2 separate regions of the Homo sapiens genome follow, and region 2 is linked to region 1. The links are contacts of gene promoters, found by promoter capture Hi-C in human tissues and cell types (Jung and others, 2019). All regions are on one chromosome and are shown on one strand. The core of a region is centred on a gene start or on the middle of the fragment in contact, and the rest is flanking DNA. Distances in the headings are between cores, read along the strand shown. Region 1 holds the start of MYO5B (myosin VB). Region 2 overlaps ACAA2 (acetyl-CoA acyltransferase 2).

The links. The method cuts DNA at HindIII sites, captures the fragments that hold promoters and counts their contacts. A contact is called where the count stands out against the background at its distance.
Region 2: a contact is called between a fragment that was not itself captured here and the fragment with the promoter of MYO5B in region 1, in 1 of the 25 tissues and cell types used here (bladder).

Annotation. Positions count from the first base shown.
Region 1 is chr18:50,193,567-50,200,620 of GRCh38, forward strand. It overlaps MYO5B (myosin VB), which reads right to left and starts at 1,581. Exons shown (of 40, transcript NM_001080467.3): 1 at 1,201-1,581. The coding sequence starts at 1,227. RefSeq lists silencers at 1,256-1,495, 1,556-1,795. The HindIII fragment of the contact is 5,061 bases long and covers 1-4,304 here.
Region 2 is chr18:49,804,229-49,811,327 of GRCh38, forward strand. The region is part of intron 1 of ACAA2 (acetyl-CoA acyltransferase 2); the gene reads right to left. Among named protein-coding and RNA genes, the nearest start is that of ACAA2, 5.8 kb to the right of the region's middle. The HindIII fragment of the contact is 8,087 bases long and covers 1-7,099 here.

The DNA.
Region 1 (7,054 bases), core at 331-2,830:
GTTCCTACCCAGCCCAGACCTGTTGGCCCGGGCGGGTGTCCCGGGAATCGCATACCCACGCAACGCGCGTGGACACCACACGCACACACAACTCTGCATGGAGGCGTGTGCATAGGCACTGTTAAACGTGTTTTGGCCACCCAAGAAGACGAACAGGAAAACCAGGCATTGGACTATCCAAAACTTGTTTTCTTAAAGGTGCATAGGGCACATGTGAAGAAAAGGCCTTTGCCCCTCTCACTACTGACTCCAGGTTGAAACTCGAGGGGTCCCGGGCGGCTGCAGCGCTGCCGCGAGCTCCCCTGGAAGCGGTGGCTTGTCCCTAACTTTAACCACAGCAACTGCTGCGGAACGCGGGCGTCTCCGCCCGGGCTGCACCTGTTCCCGATTCGGAGCACCCAGCCTCACACATCCCTTCTGACCTTGAAGGCATCCTGAAACTCACACCCTGCTCCCGGTTCGACTTTACTCCAACCCCCTCCCCGCAGTCACTGAAGCCCTCTTTGTACCAAAGAGGCCGCGTCAAAACATCCATCCCCAGCAAATTCACAATGCTCTTCCCTGGGGTCTCCGGAGATAACGGCGCACCCCTCTACCCATTGCTTACCCTCACTCCATCCAGCCGCCGCGCCCTCACGCCAGGTTGTCTCCTCCCTCTCCACCAAGTCCAGAACCCCCACCTCTCCCAAGTCCAGGGTTCCCTGTTGTGGGTATGCGGGAGGAAAGGACGCCTCGGAGGCGCGCCCTCGAGAGCCGGCGCCGCAGAGCCCCTGGGGTGGGGTCCACGGCGGGGACAGGGGACAGCAGCGGGAGCACCGCGGGGGCCCGTCCCGCGCACGGCGCTCAGAGCTGGCAGGGTCGCCCTGCCGTTCGGGGAACTCGGTTGGAGCCGAGCCCAGGCAACGAAAGTGAGGGGCGCGGCGGGGAGGGGGCGACAGCCCTGGCTTGGTGCTGAGCCGTGGCGCTGCGGAACCTCTAGGAGCCGGGTGGCCGGTCAGTGCGGGCGTTCCCGGAACCGCCAAACTTTCTCCGCCAACCGAAGTTAGGGACTCCGAGGACAGTGACGAGGAGGACACCGCGGAGGGGGGTCTCCCGTCACCTCCCGCCTCCAGTAGCCGAGGGAGAAGGCGACCCTGAGTACTAGGTGGCCCCGAGCGCGCCACCCCGGCCCCGGGGCGCCTCCCTCGCGGCCGCGCTCACCTGGCTGTAGAGCTCGCCCACCGACATGGCCCGGGCCGGGCGGGGCTCGGGCCCCGGCTCCTGGCTGCCCCGCGGCTCTCAGTCCGCGGCTGGCCCGCCTGGCGCCATGTTCCCGGGCTGGCCTGGAGTTTCTCGATCTTCTCGCTCTTCTCCGACCTGCCCCGCCGGCTTCCCGCAGGCGCCGCGGCCGGCTCGCTCCCGGCGGCGCGACCTTTACTCCCGCCGCGGCGGCGCAGCTACGGCCGGACAGGAGTTGCGAGCGCCGGGGGAGGAGGCCGCGCCGCACCACTCCCCTCCCAGGTGTGGGGAGGAGGCGAGGGCCGGCGAGGAGGGAGGACCCGCTCGCGTCAGAGCGGACGGCCCGTGCGCCGCCGCGCCTCTGAGCCCTGCCGGTGCCCGGCCCGACGCGCCCTCCCGCGCCCCCGCTGCCACCTGGGCCTCCGGGCCGGGGGCGGGGCGCTCAGAGAGGAGCTCCGGGACCGGCGCGGGCCGCCCCCTGCTGGACGCCGCGCGCGCGCAGGCACAGGTGCGCCCCGGCGCCCGCACCTGCCCTGCCGCGCTCCGCTTCCACCCGCACCGGGCCCCGCGGAGTCCGGCATGAACGCGGTGCAGACAAGAAAAGGGAAGAGGAACTAACCAGAGAGGGGGGAAAAAAGAGAAGCGTCTATGGCTGGAAGGCCCCAGACATTGCCCTCGATTTTACCTGGCTGTATTCAGCGCTTTCATGATTAAAATTCAGTTACTCGTAGATCGTTATTAAGGCGACCTGGATATACATACACCAGGGATCTTCTCCTTCAAACTGAACTCTCTGCGCGGAAATCCTTGTCAGTAAAGTGGGAGTCGTAACTCCTTCTGTACAAATATTGTCCACTTTCGCCCACAGCCTCCAAGGAGACTCCAGGCCACTCATCTCAGAGGGCTTCTGCTTTTCCGGGAAGTCTCACGTTCTCCCAACCCCCGTCTCGTCTACATGCAGACTCCGGGTCCTTTTGCCACTCACTACCTCGTTTATTTGTGTTCCCTCTCTGACCATGGCACTTGGCTGCCTGCAGCAACTTCAGCTCCTCTCCTACTTCCAGTGAAAAGTAGAAATTTCAACCAAGAAAAAAAAAAAAAAACTGCCAGAAGTCTGTGGAGGGAGACGAGGGGCTGTCAGAGGAGACACTCCCTTCTGAAGCTGACATCTGTCCCTGACCCAGGGGTGGCCCCTGAAAAGTGGTTCTCAACCGGAAGATATATCTGTACCAGCCGGGGCAGTTGTTCAAGAGCCCCAGAAGGTGATTCTCAGAGGCATCCCACCTGGAACTCAAGATCCCGTTGTAATTCACCTGTGCAGGCCTTCCCATGGGCACCTCCACAATGAGAGTCACATGGGGAGCTTTAAGCGTTCCAAGGAAGAGGCCCCAACCCAAGGAATTCTGATATAATGAAGGATGGGACCTGGGTATCCCAATTTTTAAAGCTCCTCTGAAAGTCTAAAGGATGGTACTTCCAGGGTGACAAATGCATTGACCAAAGCTTGGGCGGCTCTCATTGGACCTAAAAATGGAACTCTTCACATCAGTGGCAAGAGCAGAAAGGGATTTTTTTCTCTTCCTCAAAAGTTTTTCTGCATATTTCCCTTCCCCGGATTCCTGTAGCTCTTAAAGTGTGTCCCCACCCCCCACGCCCACCATCAGCATCACCTGGTAACTGTTAGAAATACAAGTTATTGGGCTCCACTGCAGACCTACTGAACCATAAACTCTGGTGTGGGGCCAGTACTCATTGTTCTTTCTGCCTCCAGGTGATTCTCCCCTTTTTGAATAAGAAAGTCATCAGTCCTGCCTAGATCCTGGCCTCTTCCTCCACCACCATTAGTGGTCCCATCTCTCTACCAGCAACTCTTCCTCTCTCCACTGGCCCCTGGCTTTTTGTGTTTTCCTCTCCTGCTAAACTTCTTAAAGCAGTAGCTTCACTTATTTAGCTATCTCCACTTACGCCCAGTACCTCCTTAATTCTCTGATTCTCAACACTTTATGCACATCAGAATCACTTTTGAAACAAGTGGATGTCTGGTTCCCACTCCCAGAAATTCTGATTTAACTTGTCTGGGGGGTGTTGCCCTGGGTGAAAGGATTCTGAAGAGCTCCCAGATGGTTCTAATGGCAGCCAAGTTTAAGAGCTGCTGTTCTGGCCGGGTGTGGTGGCTCATGCCTATAATCCCAGCACTTCGGGAGGCCAATGTGGGCCGATCACTTGAAGTCAGGAGTTCAAGACCAGCCTGGCTAACATGGTGAAACCCCGTCTCTACTAAAAGTACAAAAATTAGCTGGGCGTGGTGGCGCATGCCTGTAATCCTAGCTACTTGGAAGGCTGAGGCAGGAGAATCGCTTGAACCTGGGAGGTGGAGGTTGCAGTGAGCCGAGACCACACCACTGCACTCCAGCCTGGGTGACAGAACAAGACTCCATCTTTAAAAAATAATAAATAAATAAATAAATAAATAAATAAATGTTGCTGTTCTAATTTCTTCTTATTTGGCTTCCACTCAGACCTATCCTATTGAAATTGCCTCATCACTGTGAAGCATGGGGTGGGAATTGATTCAACCCATTACGTTAAACCATCTCTTCCCTGAGTACTATTTTTCTCTTGTTTTCTCAGCCTCTCTAACCAAACCTTCTCAACATTATTTTCTAGGCCTGCGTCCTCTTCCTGGTTTCTGAATAAAACTATGCTCCATTTCAGAGATCTCATCTTTCTTCTCAGCCACGCCCCCATTTTGTCTCTTGCTCACAATGCTAATTCTCAAATCTAATTCTAACCTTACTCAAGATCCACCTTTCCACCTGCAGATAGGCAATGGTAACAATGCCACTTGGACCTCGGACCAACCTGACATTCATTTGTTTCCATCCTTTCTCCCCACCCGTAACTGGTTCCAACTGTCTGGCTTCCATCACACCTGGCACAAATGAAAAGCTCAATTCATGTTAACTGAACTGAATCGCATTCCTGAGTCCTACACTTGGCCAGAGCTTTGTGAATTTCTAATTCCACAATCAGATATGGTGTTTCCCTCCTTTGAACAATAAAGACATTTTAAAACTTACTTGATCCAGGAAACATACCAAGCGCTTTACTTCTGTGATCCTGTTGAAGCCTCAGAGCAACCTTATAAAGGAGGTTCAGAATATTAAGGCTGTTTCACAGATGGGCAAAGTGAGGCTTAGGGAAGAAGGGTGTGAAAAACACTCTAGGTCAGACAGCTACTGTTCAATTAAAGTCTCACTCGAGCGTCTAACCCTTGCTTTTTATGTCAATGGATGTTGAACTTCAGTGTGTACCAGGATTAAGGGGCTATCAGGGGATGTTAATTCAGTTGGTCAGAGACATGATCAATGAGTCTGAATTTTTTTTTTTTTTTTTTTTTGAGATGGAGTTTTGCTCTTGCTGCTCAGGCTGGAGTGCAGTGGTGCCATCTCAGCTCACCGCAACCTCCGCCTCCCGGGTTCAAGCGATTCTCCTGCCTCAGCCTCCCGAGTAACTGGGATTATAGGCATGCGCCACCATGCCTGGCTGATTTTGTATTTTTAGTAGAGACGGGGTTTAGCAGAGATGGATCAACCTCAGGTGATCTGCCCACCTTGGCCCCCAAAGTGCTGGGATGACAGACGTGAGCCACCATGCCCGGCCTATGAGTCTGCAAATTTAATACATATCCCAGGTGGTGTAGGGCCCACACTTTGAGAAACATTGCTCTGTGCTCCACGGCTTCTCAAAGTAAAAAGAAGATACCTGTTGGAAATGCCTTAGTCTCCTTCCTGACAGGTGAGGATTTCCCTCACACAAATAATAAAAAGTGAACTTCCAAGGCATTCATTTGCACCCTGTATGATATGTGAACTAATATCCCTTTCTCCTCCTCACCACTAGGTTCTAAGAGTCTTGAGGGCAGGGACCACACCTGATCCATATTTGTGTCCTCTGCACTTCCTAGAACATGACTTGCACAAAGTTGATCACAGTAAATAGTAGGTAAATAGAGATATGTTTTGAGCCAAGTCTTAAAGGAAGTACTGCTCATTAATTAGTGGAAAAGAGAAAATAAAGGGATTACTAAACAGAAAAATTTGCATAAGCAAAGAAAGAGAGGAGGGATTCCACTAAGAAGAAGGCTTCTTATTCACTGGCCCTTCTGTGAAAGCGGTTTATAAACTATACAGTGACAGTTAAAATTATTTTCTTATGGGCTGGACACAGTGGCTCATACCTGTAATCCCAGCACTTTGGGAGGCTGAGGCGGATCACTTGAGGTCAGGAGTTCACAACCAGCCTGGCCCACATGGTGAAACCCCATCTCTACTAAAAATACAAAAATTAGCATGCCTGCAGACCCAGCTACTTGGGAGGCTGAGGCAGGAGAATCTCTTGAACCCAGGGGGCGGAGGGGGCAGTGAGCTGAGATTGTGCCAGTGTACTCCAGCCTGGGCAACAGAGTGAGACTCTGTTTCCAAAAATAATAATAATTTTCTTATATCCTCTCCTTTACCAAACAGATTCATATCTTCCCCCTTTCCTGCTCTATCCTGAAAACCTCAGTTCCTTAAACAAAGGCTGTCTTTCTTGCTCATATTACGTACCTACCGTGGGTTGGATGCGGCTCTGCTCTAGAGACTTTCCTTTGGGCTCCCATCTGGAAGCTTCCCTGTGTTGTGGTGGAAGGAAAAGAGATGCAGCAAACCCCGTTCCAGCTTCTAAAGCTTCTGCTTGAGGACTGACTCACATTTCAATACTGAGAGGGATACACTCACATCTCATTGGCCAAAACAAGATGCAGGGCTGCTTCTGAAATTATCAGGGCAGGGCACTGACTGGAGGAGCAACCAGAACAGGACAGCAAATGTTTTCAATAATAACATAATCCGTTAGACTCCTTTCTCTCCAAATTCTGTCTCTTCCAGAAAACTTGTCTTAAATTATGTCAGGATTTCTCCTGAGGTCTGGCCCCCCCAAACCAGGGCAAGGGAATGAATAAAGTGAATTCTGGATCTGGATGAGGAGCCATAAAGTATATTCACAGTTGGAATATAAACTCCCTAAACATGAAAAGGGGACAACTTTACCTGCATGGAAGAAAGGGTGGGAGAAAACAAACTTATCCCTGAACTAAAAACTGGGCATGGACTCACTGACCCTGAATCACAGTTTTTGGGGTGGAGGTCATCTAGCCTAATGCCCAGTGCAAGAATGCTCACCTTCCCAAATGTGGGACCACCCAGTCTCTGATTAGACACTGCTGCGGATGGAGAACTCATTATCCTGTGAGGCAGCCAGCACAGTCATTGAACTTCTGCAGGTCCTCTCTCATTTCCAGAGGTCCATAATGTCCTCATCACCCTCAGCCAGCTGGCAATCCACTGCTTCTCTCATACAGATTTGAGTACTGAATTGAGTTTTCCACATTGTATCCAAGAAATGGAAATATGGTTGAAATAGTAGTCCCTGAGACATGGGAATAAGGTTGAAGTTGTTTTCCCCAACAGGTGGTCATTAAAGCCTGATTATGGGCTGCTTCTGAAATGGCTCCCAATATTTCTCACCTCCTAATGGTGTCCTTTTGTGTAATCTCTTCCATTTATGTGTGGGCTAGACCTAGAGATTTGGTTCTAACAATAAAATACAGCAAAAATGATGGCATGCCAGATTCATTAAATTATAAAGGACTGTGAGTTTTGTCTTACTGGAACTCTCTCTGGCTCTTGTCATATGCTTGCCCTGAGGAAGAGTTGCTGTGGAAAGGCCCATATGGCAAGGAAATAAGGGAGGCTTCAGTCCAATGGCCCTTGAGGGACCAAATTCTCCCAAC
Region 2 (7,099 bases), core at 2,728-5,227, 390 kb before region 1:
TTTATATTGAACTAACTCAGCTTACAAAGTCTTCCATCCACCAATTCTAGTTCTCTCCAAAAGCACCAACACAGATAGAGATGTAGTTTCTAGAATATATGCTGCTACCGGTTCTAGAGTCACAGGATGACTCAAGTTACAGACTTCAAATAAATAACCTGAACTATTATCTTTTACTCTTAGAAAAAAAATGGGCAAAACAGGTTACCTTCTACATGTGTATCCCCCACCTCCAGTATCTGAAGTCAGCTAACCTGTAAGTCCCCAAACCTAGTGACTCTCATCTCAGGTAAATTAAAGGCATTCTTTCAATAGTTTTTTATTTGACATTAATTCTGACTGCTTTCCTCTAAAGACACTGTAGTTTGCCAACATCCTATTAAAATGTGTCCCTTAGAATATAAGAATATAACAAAAATAGCATGCATTTTATCTAATCACAAAGAATAGAGGAATTATCTATACATCTACTAATACAAACTAAGACTATAAATTTGCAGCATCACTATTAGTTAAATCGGTGTCCTTGTACAAATAAATAAAAATCACCCCTTCCCAATCACCTACTACCATCTGCCAAAAAAAAACTTGTGACTATACAAATATATGATTATGATGTGAGTGGTACCCACTCATCATCATTAGAGCTGTACAGTGCAAAACCGGCATATCAGTAAGCAGCATCAGTTATAGCCATTTCATCATATTGACATTCATTAGGTGTCTACTAAATACTAGACATTTTATCACTTTCCACACAAAAGCTAATCTTCCCAGCAACTCTGCAAGGTAAATATTATAGCTAACATAGAGGGGACACTTACTATGGAATAGACTTCATGCTAGCACTTTGCATATACTAACTTTATTCTCTCCAAGACAATCTAAGCTCACATTTCCACATCTTGTCAAGAAATTATGGGACTTTCGGCAATGGGTTTGTGATAAGATACTGATCTACAAATGAGACTATTCAAGCATTATACCACTACTGGTATCTAAGTATAATCTTCCAGTTTATGATCTCTTTCATCAAACAAACCAAGCCTAGCCTAAAATATTTCTATTTCAACCTCTCTTTTCATTCCTATTTTGAGAAATTTGCAGTTTAAAGGAATATTAGGAGCAATATATATAACTATAATTTAGAACAGATCCACTCAGTTTTTTACAGATACAAATTCAGATAGTTACAAAAGGCCATAAATACTAGTCGAGTGCATTACAAACGTTTTGTTCTGGTAAATTGGTTATTCTGTACCATGATGCCTTCCTGAATCTTTTCAAGTTTCCTTTCATCCTCCTTCCTTAACAGTCTCTGCCTATTTTTATATCAGTGTTTTCTTTTTTTTTTGAGACAGTCTTGCTCTGTGCCCAGGCTAGAGTGCAGTGATGTGATCACAGCTCCCTGCAGCCTCGACCTCTGCAGCCTCGACTTTCCCAACTCAAGTGATCCCCCTGCCTCAGCCTCCCAAGTAGGTAGGACTACAGGCATGTGCCACCACACCTGGCTAATTTTTACCTTTTTTTCTTTTTTTTTTTTGTAGAGATGGGGTCTTGCTATGTTTCCCAGGCTGGTCTCGAACTCCTGGGCTCAAGCAATCCTCCCACCTTGGCCTCCCAAACTGCTAGGATTATAGGCATGAGCTACTGCACCTGGCCTATCAGTGGTTGCTTTATTTCATTCTTCTTTCCTCTTTCCATGCCTTCTTCCTAATTTCATTAGTTCTGCTTCTGGTCATGGCCTACTATGCTCCTATCTGACCAACCCTCCAACAGATAACAATGAAAAACTCCAGACAATATATAAGAACAACTACTACCTGACGGTCTTGGAAATGAACAAAACTAGACAGGTAAGGAGAAGAGTTGATACTTAGAGGAAGGGAACAGAACAGGGTAAGTGTCCAATTTATTTATAGCAACTAACTTGAAGACTAACAGTCCATGATGCATGGAATGGCTAGAACTCAGAAACAGTCTTACTGGCTTGAAGAATCAGAGAATAAAATTCATGGTAAGCACAGCCACTAGAAAGTGAATGAGAATCTGGGAAAGAGGAGCACCATAGAGCGAGATTCCAAATTTCACATATAAACTCTGCCCAAATATTTGGCTGACTCCTTAGCCATTCATGTGTAGGTCAGACCACAAGCACCTAAGCCAAGCCTTAAAAAACTGAACTTAGATTTAAGCTGCTGCCCACTACAAGGGGAGACATAGTTTATCACGGGGGTGCATGGGGGTGATTTTGTAGGCAAAGTAACTGTCTACAAAAAATAAATAGCCAACCAATCAATAAGTCAGTTCTGTCTGCAGGATTATAACAGAATCCAGTCTCCACAATGTTCCATCTGCAATATTCATAATATAATTCAAAGTTAATCCACATATGAGGAAACAAAAAATATGACAATCAACAGAGACCAATCCCAAGAAGACCCAGACACTGAAATTAGCAGACAAGGATTTTAAAATAGCATTCTATTACAACTATGCTCAAGGATGTAGAGGAAAATATGCTCCTAATAAAACATAGGACATCTCAGTAAAGAAATACATACTATAAAAATCCAAAATGGAAATTCCAAAACTGGAAAATACCTGAAATAAAAAATTCCCTGGATGGGCTTAACAGCAAAATAGAAATGAAAGGAGAAAAATTCAGCGACTTTGAAGATAGATAAATAGAAATTAACCAATCTGAAGAACAGATGAAAAAAAAAAGATTAAAAAACAAAGCCAGAACCTCAAGGTCTGACAAAGGAGGAAAGGCAATTCACTGGAAAAAGGATCGTCTTTCCAACAAACAGTGCTGGAACAACAAAACATCTATATACCAAACAAAATGAATCCAGGCAAAAATGCGTCAACTTTGATAGTGGGCTGGGCACTGTGGCTCAAGCCTATAATCTCAGCTACTCAAGAGGCTGAGGTGGGAGGACTGTGTCAGGATAGGAGTTTGAAACCAGCCTAGGCAACATAGCGAGATCCCCATCTCTAAAAAATGTAAAAAATTAGTTGGGCATAGTGGCATGTGCCTGTAGTCCCAGCTATTCAGGAGGCTGAGTTCAAGGCTACCGTGGGCTACAATCAAGTCACTGCACTCCAGCCTGGGTGACAGAGTGAGATCTCTTATCTAAAAAAACAGAAACAAAAACAAAGAGATCATAGACTTAAATATAAAATGCAAAACTCTTAGAACATACGAGAAAAATCTACATGGCTTTGGGTTTGGTGATAATTTTTTAGATCTAACACCAAAAGCAGGATCCATGAAGGGAAAACTTAGGTTGGACTTCATTAAAATAGAAAACTTCTGGCTGTGTGCAGTGGCTCATGCCTATAATCCCAGCATTTTGGAAGGCCAAGGTGGGAGGACTGCTTGAGCCCAGGAGTTTGAGACCAGCCTGGGAGACATGATGGGACCCTGTCTCTATAAAAAATTAAGAAATCAGCCAAGCATGGTGGTGTGTGCTTGTGGTCCTAGCCACTTGGGAGGCTGAGGCAAGGGGACTGCTAGAGCCCAGGAGGTCAAGGCTACAGTGGCCGTGTTCACACCACTGTACTCCAGCCTGGGTGACAGAGCGGGACCCTCTAAAAACAAATGAATAAATAACCTCTGCTCTGCAAAAGATGCTGTTAAGAGAATGAAAAGACAAGCGACAGACTAGGAGAAAATATTTATAAAAACACCTAACTGATAAGGGACTGGTATCCAAAACATACAAAGTGTTCTTACAGCTCAGCAATTAAAAAAAAAAAAAAAAACCCATGCAACCCAATTTAAAAATGGGCAAAAGATCTGAACAGATACCTTACTAAAGAAGATATACAGATGGCAAATAAGCATATGAAAAGATGCTCAACATTGTATGTCATTAGGGAATTGCAAATTAAAACAATGAGATACTACTACACAACTATTAGTCTTTTGGATTTTAGAAAGGCTAAAATCCCAAACACTGACAACACCAAACACTGGTGAGGATGTGGAACAACAGAAATTCATTCACTGCTGGTGGGAATGCAAATGGTATGGCCAGCTTGGAAGACACTTTGGCAGTTTCTTATAAAACTAAACACACCTAACCATATGTATGATACAGCAATCAGGTTCCTTGTATTTACCTAAATGATTTGAAAACTTATGTTCAAACAAAAACCTGCAAACAAATGTTTATTCCTAATTGTTAAAACTTGAAGGCAACCACGATGTCCTATCATGGGAACCCGCCCCCCAATATTTCAGTGTAGGTTCTATTTTCCTTAAGTGTCGGCCGGTCTGAGAAACAGAAAGAGTACAAAGAGAGGAATTTTACAGCTGGGCCGCCGGGGGTGACATCACATATCGGTAGGTCCAGGATGCCCACCTGAACCACAAAACCAGCAGGTTTTTATTAAGGATTTCAAAAGGGGAGCAGGTGTACGAACAGGGAGTAGGTCACAAAGATCATATGCTTCAAAGGGCAAAAAGGAGAACAAAGATCACATGCTTCTGAGGCCAATAAAGATCACAAGGCAAAGGACAAAGCAAAGATCACAAGGCAAAGGGCAAAATCAAAAACTCCTGATAAGGGCCTATGTTCAGCTGTGCACATATTGTCTTGATAAACATCTTAAACAACAGAAAACAGTGTTCAATAGCAGAGAACTGGTCTGACCTCAAATTTACCAAGAAGCGTTTTTTCCCCACCCTAATAAGCCTGAGGGTACTGCAGGAGACCAGGGGGTATTTCAGTCCTTATCTCAACCGCATAAGACAGACACTCCCAGAGCGGCCATTTATAGACCTCCCCCCAGGAATACAATTCTTTTCCTAGGGTCTTAACATTCCTTGCTAGGAAAAGAATTTAGTGATATCTCTCCTACTTGCATATCCGTTTATAGGCTCTCTGCAAGAAGAAAAATATGGCTCCTACTGCCCGACCCCGCAGGCAGTAAAGACCTTATGGTTATCTTCCCTTGTTCCCTAAAAATCGCTGTTATTCTGTTCAAGGTGCACTGATTTCATATTGCTCAAACACACGTTTTACAATCAATTTGTACAGTTAACACAATCATCACAGTGGACCTGAGGTGACGTACATCCTCAGCTTACGAAGATAACGGGATTAAGAGATTAAAGTAAGACAGGCGTTAAGAGTATTATTAGGGAAGTGATAAATGTCCATGAAATCTTCACAATTTATGTTCCTCTGCCACAGCTCTAGCCGGTCCCTCCATTCAGGGTCCCTGACTTCCCACAACAATGTCCTTCAACAGGTGAATGGATAAACAAACTGTGGTGCAGCCATACAATGGAATATTATTCAGCAATAAAAAGAAGTGAGCTATCAAGCCATAAAAGGAAGGAATCTTAAATGCATGTCGCTAAGTGAAAGAAGCCAGTCTGGAAAGGCCATATACTGTATGATTCCAACTACATGATATCTGGAAAAGGCAAAGCTATGGAGACAGTAAAAAGATCAGTGCTTGCCAGGGGTTCAGAGACAGGGATAAATAAGTGAATCACAGATGATGTTTAGGGTGGTGAAATTAATCTGCATGACACTATAATACTGACATCGGTCATTTGCACATTTGTCAAAACCCATAGAACTATACAATACAATGAATGAACTTGAATGCAAAATATGAACTTCAGTGAATAATAATATATCAATGTTAGCTCATCAATTGTAACAAATGTACCACACTAATGCAAAATGTTAATAATAGGGGAAACGGACCGGGCAAGGGAGCACATGGTAATACTCCGTACTTTCTGCTCAATTTTTTTGTAAAACCTAAATCTGCTCAAAAACAAAGTTTGTAAATTTTTTCTTTAAAGTCGGATAGTAAAAAAACACGGGCAGAACCTCAAGGACTAACAAGTTACAGTCATAGGAGAGGACAGAGAATGGATTTAAAAAAACATTTGCAGAAATAATAAAGAAGAAATTTCCAAATTTGATAAAAAACATAAATTTGTATATTAAAGCTTGGTAAACCTCAACTCTAATAAACACCACACGTAACACTCCACACCCCGTTCTCCTGCAGCTTGGCACATCATTGTCAAACTTTTGAAATCCAAAGATAACAAAAATATATAAAGCATCCAGAAATAAAAATGACATATTGCACACATGGAAATGACCCCTCACTTCTCAGAAACAATAGAGCCTAATTTCATTTGTCTCTCTACAAAGTTCCTTTTATGAACTTCTCCCCTATGTCTCATATTCTAAGAAAGCATTTGATAGGGCAGTGCTAGTAGTGAAATATGCAATATCTACAAAGGAAAGGGTGTGCATGGGAAAATAAAAACAAAAAAAAACCTCCCCTTTACCTATATTACTTCTTATTTGATGCTCCCAGACTGTAAAGGTTAGCTCAAGTAAGACCTTAACTGAACTAAAACAATTATTTTGAACAGAGAAAATGTTCTCAATCATATATTTTTGGTTTGGGTTTTTTTTGTTTGTTTGTTTGGAGGCAGGGTTTCACTCTGTCACCCAGGCTGAAGTGCGGTAGTGTGATCTTGGCTCACTGCAGCCTCAACCTCCTGGGCTCAAGCAATCCTCCACCACAGCCTCCCGAGTAGCTGGGACTACAGGCGAGTGCCACCATGCTTGGCTAATTTTTGTATTTTTTGTAGAGACTGGGTTTCTCTATTTTAAAAAATAATTTGTTATTATTATTTTAAATCTTCATTTTAACAAATAATCTGGGATGTGCAGATAGACTATAAAGGTTTAAAGTTTTTTTTTTTTAATTTCATAAATTGTATACCATGTCAATTTTCATTTGATGTCAATTTTACGTGGATACTAAAAGGTCTAAAACTTAACAATCTTTAACACCAAACTGAAATCTCATTTGAACACCCTGAAAATTCAGAGGCTAAAAATTTCCCAAAACTGAAAGACAGTGAAGAGACCTATTAACCCAGAGTGTAGTGAGTCCAAGTAGCTCCAAGAAAGGCCCTGGAAAGATGTGCTGAGTTGACAATACAGGAAAAGCACCACTAGGAAAGAAACAGGAGCACTACCTTTCTATCACATTGTTAGGTAAATATTCACTTAGAGCAACTTCAGGCAGCAACGAGGGCAAA